Regions from separate parts of the Homo sapiens genome. Here region 1 is linked to region 2. The links are contacts of gene promoters, found by promoter capture Hi-C in human tissues and cell types (Jung and others, 2019). All regions are on one chromosome and are shown on one strand. The core of a region is centred on a gene start or on the middle of the fragment in contact, and the rest is flanking DNA. Distances in the headings are between cores, read along the strand shown. Region 1 overlaps CPNE1 (copine 1). Region 2 holds the start of CHMP4B (charged multivesicular body protein 4B).

The links. The method cuts DNA at HindIII sites, captures the fragments that hold promoters and counts their contacts. A contact is called where the count stands out against the background at its distance.
Region 1: a fragment that was not itself captured here is called in contact with the fragment with the promoter of CHMP4B in region 2 in 1 of the 25 tissues and cell types used here (hippocampus).

The regions. Positions count from the first base shown.
Region 1 is chr20:35,657,653-35,663,102 of GRCh38, forward strand. The region is part of intron 1 of CPNE1 (copine 1); the gene reads right to left. It overlaps RBM12 (RNA binding motif protein 12), which reads right to left. Exons shown (of 3, transcript NM_006047.6): 2 at 1,278-1,362. Among named protein-coding and RNA genes, the nearest start is that of CPNE1, 4.5 kb to the right of the region's middle. The HindIII fragment of the contact is 4,098 bases long and covers 1,634-5,450 here.
Region 2 is chr20:33,808,659-33,813,660 of GRCh38, forward strand. It overlaps CHMP4B (charged multivesicular body protein 4B), which reads left to right and starts at 2,690. Exons shown (of 5, transcript NM_176812.5): 1 at 2,690-3,000. The coding sequence starts at 2,811. ZNF341-AS1 (ZNF341 antisense RNA 1) reads right to left here and starts at 2,441. Exons shown (of 4, transcript NR_110623.1): 1 at 2,382-2,441. RefSeq lists enhancers at 2,365-2,659, 2,399-2,478, 3,245-4,085, 3,914-3,983 and a silencer at 2,539-2,818. The HindIII fragment of the contact is 9,541 bases long and covers 1-5,002 here.

The DNA.
Region 1 (5,450 bases), core at 2,433-4,932, 1.8 Mb after region 2:
TCTGCCTCAGATTACCAGCTGGAAAGGGCTGAATATTAAACCAAAGTGGAATACAAGATTTATTCATAAAGCCATCTGATGAGAAAAATTGTTTCTAGCTTCCAAAAAATATGAAATAATATCCGCAGCCAGGTGCGGTGGCTCACACCTGTAACCCCAGCACTTTGGGAGGATGAGGTGGGTGGATCACCCGAGGTCAGGAGTTCAAGACCAGCCTGGCCAACAAGGTGAAACCCCGTCTCTACTAAAAACACAAAAAATTAGCTGGGCATGGTGGCAGGTGCCTGTAATCCCAGCTACTAGGGAGGCTGAGGCAGAAGAATCACTTGAACCCGGGAGGCAGAGATCACGCCACTGCACTCCAGCCTGGGCAACAAGAGCGAAACTCTGTCTCAAAAAGAAATAAATAAATAAAACAAATAAAAATTTAAAAAAAAATTTAAAAAAGTATCTGCTTTTCTGTTACTAAGTAACTGTTTGACAGCTAAGTCATTTCAACCTAACTTGGGCCTATCTTAGTTACTTAAACAAGAGGGTTAGATTCCACTTGCTAAGGTTCCATTTAAAGTCTAAAATTTGTACTCTAAAACATGTGACCCATTATCTATACTTAAACTCTTAGGAAATATAAATAAACATATCAATAACAAGCATCTGTATTTGTAATTAGTCTAAAATGCTACTAAGGAATAAAACTTACTGCCTATCAGGAAAATCACAAGATAAATAGATCCATATAAATGAAATTGACCCCCAAAGGAACAACTGTTCAAAGCACCCATCTACCCCACCCCTATCCCTCAGATAAACTTGTAAAAAACCACACCGGCCTGGGTGGCGGCTCATGCCTGTAATCCCAGCACTTTGGGAGGCTAAGGCAGGTGGATCACAAGGTCAGGAGTTCAAGACCAGCCTGGCCAAGAGGATAAAACCCCATCTCTACTAAAAATACAAAAAAATTAGCCGGGTATGGTGGCAGGCGCCTGTAATCCCAGCTATTCGGGAGGCTGAGGCAGAGAAGTGCTTGAACCCGGGAGGCGGAGGTTGCAGTGAGCCGAGATGGCACCACTGCACTCCAGCCTGGGCAACAGAGTCTAGCCTGGGCAACTGAGCAAGACTCCGTCTCAAAACAAAAAACAAGCAAACAAAAACACACACACACACACACACACACACACACACACACAATATAGTTGCTACATATATTTTCATATTTCTTAATAAGCTATCTCATTTTATTTTGTATAAAAACGAACTCTCTATTCAAAATCTCTTACCTGATAAAACAAGAGATGAATTTCCTTAACAAGAAGTAGAGGCCAAGTCAATCCTGTGGGCAACCAATTAAAACCAACTTTTAGACTGCAATAGAGAATAAACGGAGGCAAAAATCAATGCAGGAAACACAAAACAACACGCACAGGCCACACTGTACATTACGAAGGCGAGTCTGAAACCACCAGAGTACTTCATTAGAATGCATATCAAAAAAAAAAAAAAAAAGAAAGACACCGTAACAAAATCCCACACATGCTTTTTAGTTGGTATTGCTTTCAAATTTGAGTATCTCAAAATAATTATATATTTACAAGAGTGTCATTAACTTAGCCCAATAACGAATCCACTGAAAATTAAAACAGTCATAAAGCTCAGCTTCACAGCTAATTGCTTTGATCACTTTATAATTAAACCAGTCCAGAAAACTCCGTAACACAAGTCTATTTCCCCAGGTTCTCACCAAATTTGTGATGAAAAGGCACAAGTTCGCACAATAACAATTCTTGGACAACTTAAGATAGCAATTCAAGGGTACTCATGGAAATTACTGCAATTATTCTTTCAATATATTTTATTTTGCACAAAATAGCATCCAACATCACAAAACAAATGAAGTATGAGTTCTTGCTATAAGGACTAATTCCACTGGAGCTCAAAATATTAACAAAATATTAAGGGAAAGTGTTTTTTCCTCTGACATCACAACAGTTCTCAAAAACTTGTAAAATTTAAATAAATAAAATAAAATAAAATTTAAAAACACCCTAAAAATGCCTGACATATTAAGAGTATATCCCAAAATAAAAACAGGTCACTCATCTTTCACTGTCATTTCTTCCAAACTGGTGAGGTTATTAACAAGTCACAAGCATATATGACCAAATGTCTAGACAACTATATTCAAAGGTCATTTTTTGCTTTTTATTTTTTTTCAAAGGTCATGTTTTAATTCGGAGAGAGAAGAAATTTGCCACTGTTCAGTATTAAGATTACCTACGACTACTTTTCCAAATGATGCTCATCTTAAATTAGTATCTTCCAAGACCAAAATACAACTAATGACCTTAATATTCATCGCCAAAAAGTAAAACATATTTCAAAAATCTGTGTGATTTTCTAAAGGACAAACTATTCATCGTCTAGTCAACTACTCAAGTTGCTAAAGAATAGTGAGATGGTTTTACCACAAAAAGCTATGCAAATATGTAATCAACACAATCAAAAGTCTAGAGCATTGTATTAATCTTTTACATGTTGTAGAAATCTAGCCTCTTTTTTTTTTCTTTTTTTGAGACAGGGTATCGCTCTGTCGCCCAGGCTAGAGTGCAGTGGCGCGATCTAGGCTCATTAGGCTCATTGCAACCTCCGCCTCCCTGGGTTCAAGCTATTCTCATGCCTCAGCCTCTGGAGTAGCTGGGACTGACTACAGGCTTGCGCCACCACCCGCAGCTTATTTTTGTATTTTTAGTAGAGACAGGGGTTTCATTATGTTACCCAGGCTGGTCTCTTAACTCCTCACCTCAAGTGATCCACCCGCCTCAGCCTCCCAAAGTGCTGAGATTACAGGTGTGAGCCACCACGCCTGGCCTAGCCTAACTAAGTCTAAGGAGTTTAAAAATTCTTCATTTGAAAGCCATATCTAGTAGTTTAACAGGTCACAAAGGAAAATGTGAAACAGAAAAAAACCTGCTTCAAGTAAAGCAATGAGCAAGAGCATGAAGTACTGTAATATTTATGTACAGGTTTGACTCCAGCAGCCACATAACAGGGTAACTTTCTAGTTTCTAGAACTTGTAATAAACATCTGATCCCTACTGGAGATTCCAATTCAAAAGGTCAGGTATGGGGCCAGGGCATATGCCTGAATATAAGGTAAGAAGGTTCCTCTCAGCCTCTTCCCTTGCAAACTCAAAAGATACCGTATGTCTATCTTGAGAAGGACATATCTGGGGTCAGCCAGTTAAGCTCAAAGGGAACTCACCAGGTCTACTCTCAAAAATTTCTAAAAGGTTACCAGAAATTACCTTTAAAAGGAAGATATTTCTCATTCCACAAGGCAAGGCTGAAAGGCCCAGCTGAATTTGACAAATGCCTAGTTCAAGTTTTATGTGTACAACTTAAAGCACAAAATCAATCCAGATAGAAATTTATGATTCTCTTCTATTTCAGCAAAGAGGAATACCCACCCCACCCCATACCAAGGAAAACCATGCAGAAAGTTGATGCTACAAGTCAGAACTTCACAACCCTTGGTATTATACCTCTTCAAAAGGGAAAGGTAAATGGAAATAGAACTGAAATACTTCTGTGTTGACACCTCACTTTGTAAAAACCACAAGAATTTAACATAAGTGTCACTGTTTTCCAGGAAACTACTATTCCTGTATTCTAAATGTCAGCTAGCGACTGAATGCAGGATTTCAAAAATCCACGCCATTTACCTAAAGCTTTGCTGAACTTTAGAAGGATAAGACTAAAATAATAACTAAACAATAAAACATCTAAAATACATATTCTATCTATACATACAGCATAATGATAGGAAAGGAGAAAATGGGCCTGATTTGTCATTAAAGCCACTGATATACTTCAGAAGATCTAAAACAAGAAGCTGGCTTTAGTATGTTTTCCATTCATATTATCAGGAATTAGTCCTAACATAAAGGCTTGCTTCAACTTGACAAAATACCGGATGCATGCACAAATCACAAGTATCTGCTACAAAAATTTAACATATTATGGCAAGACAGACTTTCGTATTTACTAGCCATTCTAATCACTTGGAATTTCAGAAAAAAATGTCTGACAACAAATCTCTTCATCAAGAAGTCAAGGCACAAACTAAAACGACTATTTTCACTCTTCATCTGGTAGTAAACATCCAAAAGTGAACTTTAACTTTGTTCAGTTATCACTCTTTAATCAACAAGAACCAGGGTACAGCAGAGCTAGGTTCTTCAGATCCAAAAGAAACAAACTCTCAAATGTTCACCTCAGAGATTAGCAACAGAGAACCAATCACAACGGGCACAATGCTAAAAACAGTATAATCACATTATAATAAACATTATGAAACAACCACAGTTTCAGCCACTTGATTTTGTTCCCCATTCCCAAATGGACCATATATCAAAGTCTGGGATCACTCTTAATGAAAAAATTATTCTGACACTGATGGAGATGTGTACTTTTTATAACGCATTACTCAATTTTTCCATTAACCTCCATTCCGTACTCAAAGGCAGCAAATCAGAAGACATTTCTAAATAAGATATTCCTCCTGTCAAAAATATTAAGTTATGTTTCAATCCCCCCAAATGCCAACAAAAATGTTGCTACCTTCATTTTCACTTCAGAGCAAAATTATACTTCTAACCTAAACAACCACATTCACTCTGTTTTTGAGTCTTAAAAGCTGGCTTTAAACTTAATTAAATTTTGTGCAAACCAAAAGGTATATGGGTGTGGTAGTAAAATCTGATAAAACTGTAGTTTAGATAAAATTATCTTTTCTGTTTAGTTGAAAACATTTAACAATATTCCTTTACTCCATGAACATTTACTATTAAGCACTTGTGGGCCAGACAAAAGATATAAAAGTGGACATCATCAGTCTCTGCATTTTAGGGAGGGACATCTAAAAGCATCTTTTGTGCAACCAACTACTGACACTTGGTTCTTCCTACAACATCTACAGAAGAAAACATACATTCATACAATGACAGAATGGCTCTCTGCAAAATGGAGTAAAAACTATCAACACTGTCACTGGATTCCAGCACCTGGAACACACTGGCCCACAACATCAAGTTTCACACCTAAAGACTGTACTAACAACTCCCAAACTCTCAATACTCAATCATCAAAACATTTGACGTGTCAAAGAAGGTGAAAGAAGCCCAAAGAGTACTGGTATTAGCATGTAACAATACGTTGCAAGTAACCACACAATTATTTCTAAAGCTTCACATTTTTCATCTAACAGATTTGAACATAAAGAAAATGAAAATTATACATTACAATCCATAAGCAAAGTAATCACATTTAATCGAGCATATATAAAAATGTATTCCCTGTTTCATTAAAAATCTGTCCAATAATATATACTAAGCACATCTTCATTGTTTTGTATAAACACGCCAAACATTTCACTTTCTTCATAAATTACCATA
Region 2 (5,002 bases), core at 1,440-3,939:
TAGATGACTTGACAAGTTCTTCCAATTCCACATTTGTTAACACTTCCCAGTGGCCTTCAATATGATCTTCCACTTCTTCATCAAGCATGTCCCCAAATCCTTCTCCACCAACTTGTCTTGCTGTAGCCTCTCCAGTAATATTTATTTATTTATTTGTGACAGGGTCTCACTCTGTCACCCAGGCTCGAGTGCAGTGGTGAGATCACAGCTCACTGCAGTTTCAAACTCCCAGGCTCAGATGATCTTCATGGCTCAGTCTCCTGAGCAGCTGGGACTATAGGCCTGTGCCATCATGCCCAGCTAAATTTTGTATTTTTTGTAGGGATGGGGTTTCGCCATGTTGCCCAGGCTGGCCTCAACTCCTGGGCTCAAGCGATCCACCTGCCTTGGTCTCCCAAAATGCTGGAATTACAGGCGTGAGTCACCGCACCCAACCTCCAGTAACTTTTTTTTTTTTTTTTGACACGGAGCCTCGCTCTGTTGCCCAGGCTGGAGTGCAGTGGTGCCATCTCGGCTCACTGCCAGCTCTGCCTCCCGGGTTCACGCCATTCTCCTGCCTCAGCCTCCTGAGTAGCTGGGACTACAGGCGCGTGCCACCATGCCTGGCTAATTTTTTTGTATTTTTAGTAGAGATGGAGTTTCACCGTGTTAGCCAGGATGATCTTGATCTCCTGACCTCGTGATCCGCCCGCCTCGGCCTCCCAAAGTCCTGGGATTACAGGCATGAGCCACCGCGCCCGGCCTTTTTTTTTTTTTTTTTTTTGACACGGAGTCTCTCTCTGTCGCCCAGGCTGGAGTGCAGTGGCGCAATCTCGGCTCACTGCAAGCTCTGCCTCCTGGGTTCACGCCATTCTCCTGCCTCAGCCTCCAGAGTAGCTGGGACTACAGGCACCCGCCGCCACCATGCCAGGCTAATTTTTTGTATTTTTAGTAGAGACGGGGTTTCACCTTGTTAGCCAGGATGGTCTCGATCTCCTGACCTCGTGATCCGCCCGCCTTGGCCTCCCAAAGTGCTGGGATTACAGGCGTGAGCCACCGCGCCCGGCTCCAGTAATTTTTTTTTTCTTTTTGAGACAGAATTTTGCTCTTTTCGCCCAGGCTGGAGTGCAATAGCACGATTTCAGTTTACTGCAACCTCTGCCTCTCAGGTTCAAGTGATTCTCCTGCCTCAGCCTCCCAAGTAGCTGGGATTACAGGCGTGCGCCACCACGCCCAGCTAATTTTTTTATTTTTATTTTTTATTTTTAGTAGAGATGGGGTTTCACCACGTTGGCCAGGCTGGTCTCAAACTCCTGACCTCAGGTGATCCATCCGCCTAGGCCTGCCAGAGTGCTGAGATTACAGGTGTGAGCCACTGTGCCCAGCCCATCCAGTAATTTTTATATTTTGCAGTCTAAACCTATTCCTAAGTCAGTGCAACCATCCATTACTTTCAGTAAGTGGCTTGGTGCCACTGGTTTTAGGAGATTCCTTGCTGAAGCCTTTATACAGGCTCAATGCTTTCTGGGGGGTAACAGGTTGCTGTCAGTTGGAACACATTTTTTGTTCGTGTCTTCCACGTATAAGCTTAATGCTTTTTCTTTTCTTTTGTAAAAAAATTTATTTTCTTTTTTTCCCCTGTAAGTAAGGATACAACTTAATGCCTTTTCTATCTTAACTAAGCACTTATCACACACTGTGGCTGTAACTTTTGCAGTTTGAGGTACGACAGCAAAACCAGCATGAATTTCTTTTTCCTCTTTCACAATTCTAGGGCTAGAAGATTCGTTCTTACTGCAGACCTCAGTAAGCTCAGCATACGATTTTTTTTCTTAAGCTCAGAACTTCCACATTTACATTTAAAGGAAGCACTTTACAGCTTCATTTTGGCATATCCAAACTGCCAGCATTACTACTCTTGCACTTTGGGGCCATTATATAGTAAAATGAGGGTTACTCGAACCAAAGCACTGCAACACCGTGGCAGTCCATCTGATAACTCCTAAGCTGGTAAGTAACTAACAGATGGTAGAGGTATGTTGGACAAAGGGATGATTCACATTGCAGGTAGGATGGAACAGGATAGCACGAGATTTCATTAGGCCAATGGAAATTAAAAACTTATGAACTGTTTATTTCTGGAATTTTCTATTTAATACTGTCAGACCTTAGCTGGCCAAGTGAAACTACTCAAAGTAAAATCTCAGATAAGGGGGACACTACCGTACTTAACTGGAGAAGATACTGCTTTGCTTCTGTGACCACAGAATTGACAGGTTGAAATTGGAAACAACTGTTGCCTTCACGCTTTTAAGACAACTTCACATGAATATACATGTGAAGTTCAAGCATGGCAGTATCCCATACTAGCAATAAATTTTTGAGCAGTGTTGCACACTTACTGTCATTTCTCTTACTGTTCTGCCACTCCTACAGAGCGCAGGCCAAGGAGACTACATTTCCCAGAATGCCACACGCCCTTTGACCCCAGCTACAGCAAAAGACGCGCCGGGGAGCGCCTGAAGCCGGAAGACTATAGCTTCCCGGCATGCAGCACGCTTCCCCCTATTAGATTTGAGGCGCGGCCGGCGCGTTGCCCACTGGGAGTTGTAGTCAGTGGCGCGTTGCCCTGACGCCTGCCGGGCCGGGCGTGGGGGCCTGTGGGAGGTGGCGCGGCCGGGCCCAGCTGCGGGGCGGAGGCGGAGGCGGAGGAGAGGCCTGCGGCGGCAGGGAGCGGCGGGACTGGGAGCGGGCGCCGGAGCCGACCCGAGCCGAGCCGAGCCGAGCCGAGCCGGAGCGGGCGGCGAAGGCCGGCGCGGCGAGCAGCAACCATGTCGGTGTTCGGGAAGCTGTTCGGGGCTGGAGGGGGTAAGGCCGGCAAGGGCGGCCCGACCCCCCAGGAGGCCATCCAGCGGCTGCGGGACACGGAAGAGATGTTAAGCAAGAAACAGGAGTTCCTGGAGAAGAAAATCGAGCAGGAGCTGACGGCCGCCAAGAAGCACGGCACCAAAAACAAGCGCGGTGAGGCTGCCCGGCCCCTTCAGACTTGCCACGGGCTCCCCCCAGGCTCCCCGGGCCCGGACTTCACCTTCATCAGACTCGCCTCGGGGTCTGGTCTGACCCTGGAACTCTCCGGGTCAGACTTCTTGCCGGGTCTGGGACCCCCTCCCCGACTCCCTTCAATGTCTCCCCGATCCCTGGACTTTTCCATCGTCAGACTTATTCTGCCCTCTCCCCTCAGCCTCTCTCCACCCCGCCAGGTCCCTTCAGACCCCAATCTCACAGCACTTTCCTCCGCCCTCACTCTGTCCCTTTCTCTTCCGCCTTTTCCTTCTCGCCTCACCCACCTGCCTAGCTACTGCCCCTGCCTCCTCCTCGGCTCATTTCTGCCCCCATCCTAGCATTTCTGTGCTTCCTGGTCCTACCTGTGCCCTCTCCCGACTCCTCGGTGGAATCTGTGAGCTGCCCCTTGGCCTCTCCCCTGTCCTCTTGTCTCAGAATTCTCGTTGAAAAGCCTCCTTGCTGGAGAGAAAAGGGGACTGGGGGAGATGAGACCCCCGATTCCTGCTCTATTCACTTGCTGAGTGAACTTGAGCAAGTTGCTTTCCCTTTGAGGCCTCAGTTTCCCCATCCGTCAGCCAGAGTTCGGCCTCTGTTGAGGCCTAAGGTGTTTTCCAGCGTTGTGATTCACTTTTTGTTGCCTCGTAGCTTGACCTTACCAAAGTTTCCCGTGGCGCAAGCCTTCACCCCATGACTCACCGCTTCCCCATCCGTCTGAACCAGAAATAGAGACTCCCGACTGCTCCCCAGTCCCCACTACTAGGATTCAGGGCCCCAGTATTGAATCTTGAGGCACTGCTTACTTTACTTCCTGTTGTCGTATGGCTTTCTGGGCATTCCAAGTGCTTTGTGTTTTTCTTAAGTGAGATGAATGTGAAAATGCTTTAAAACTGTAAAGCAGTTTAGAAATGTTTGCTTTTTCTTGTTATGGCCATGTGAGAGTGAATCACAGAACGACATCCCTTCCCCTTGAGAGGGGTTTAGGATTGAGGTAATTCACTCAGAAGTCTGCTAGTGACTAGCAGTGCGACCTTGAGCTCATTTACCTTTCTGAAAGGAAAATCATGGATTTACAGTGCTCAGCACATAGTAGGGGCTAAATCGATGTTTTCTCCATTCTAATAGGAGAACAAAATAGCCTATCTGGAGGATGCTTCTCTGCTGATAGTCAACAGATATTCTGGAAATTCTTTTTAGTGCCTGCTGCATGCGCTGTATTCATAGGGGTGAACAAAACACGGCCTCAACCCTAATGGGAGAGAAGACAGAAACAGGAAAATAAATGAAGAAAATATTGTCCGGGGGTGATAAGTACTAAACACACAAAAAGATGGTCTGATAGGGAGTGGTGGAGTGGGAGGGATGCCACTTTGGATAGAATGGTCAGGGAAGGCGTCTTTGAAAAGGTAAAGTTTGAACTGAGTCTGGAGAAGGAACCAGCTCTGTAAAAAAAAAAAAAAAAGGGGGAGGAGCCTTCTGGGCGTGGAAAGCAGCATGGGAAAAGGCTCGGAGGTTAGCAGGTTGTAAGAAACCGAAGAGAGAGACCCTTGTGTCCAGAATGTAGTGCTTGGAGGGAGAGTGGTATGGAATAAAGGGGGCGGGGCTTGGACTTTGAACCTGTTGGTGAAGAGTTTGAATTTTATTCCAAGTGGATGGAAAGTTTTTGGAGAGTATTTTGTTGGAACGTGTCCTTATTGACAGAGTTTTTAAAACATCATCTGGCTGCTCTTTGGAGAGTGGGTGGGGGATGCGGGTGGGAGCAGGGAGAACAGTGAGGAGGCAGCTGCAGTGGTCCATTTGTGGCTTGGACTCCAGCTTAGTTGTGGAGATGGGAACAGGGTTATATTTTGCTGTCTCTAGCTTTTTCCTCTGATGACTCTCCCTCAGTCCAGATCCTCTGTTTATGGTCATCAGAATCAGTGTTTTTAGCTTTCTGCATTTTGGAATGCAGGAGGAGGGTGTC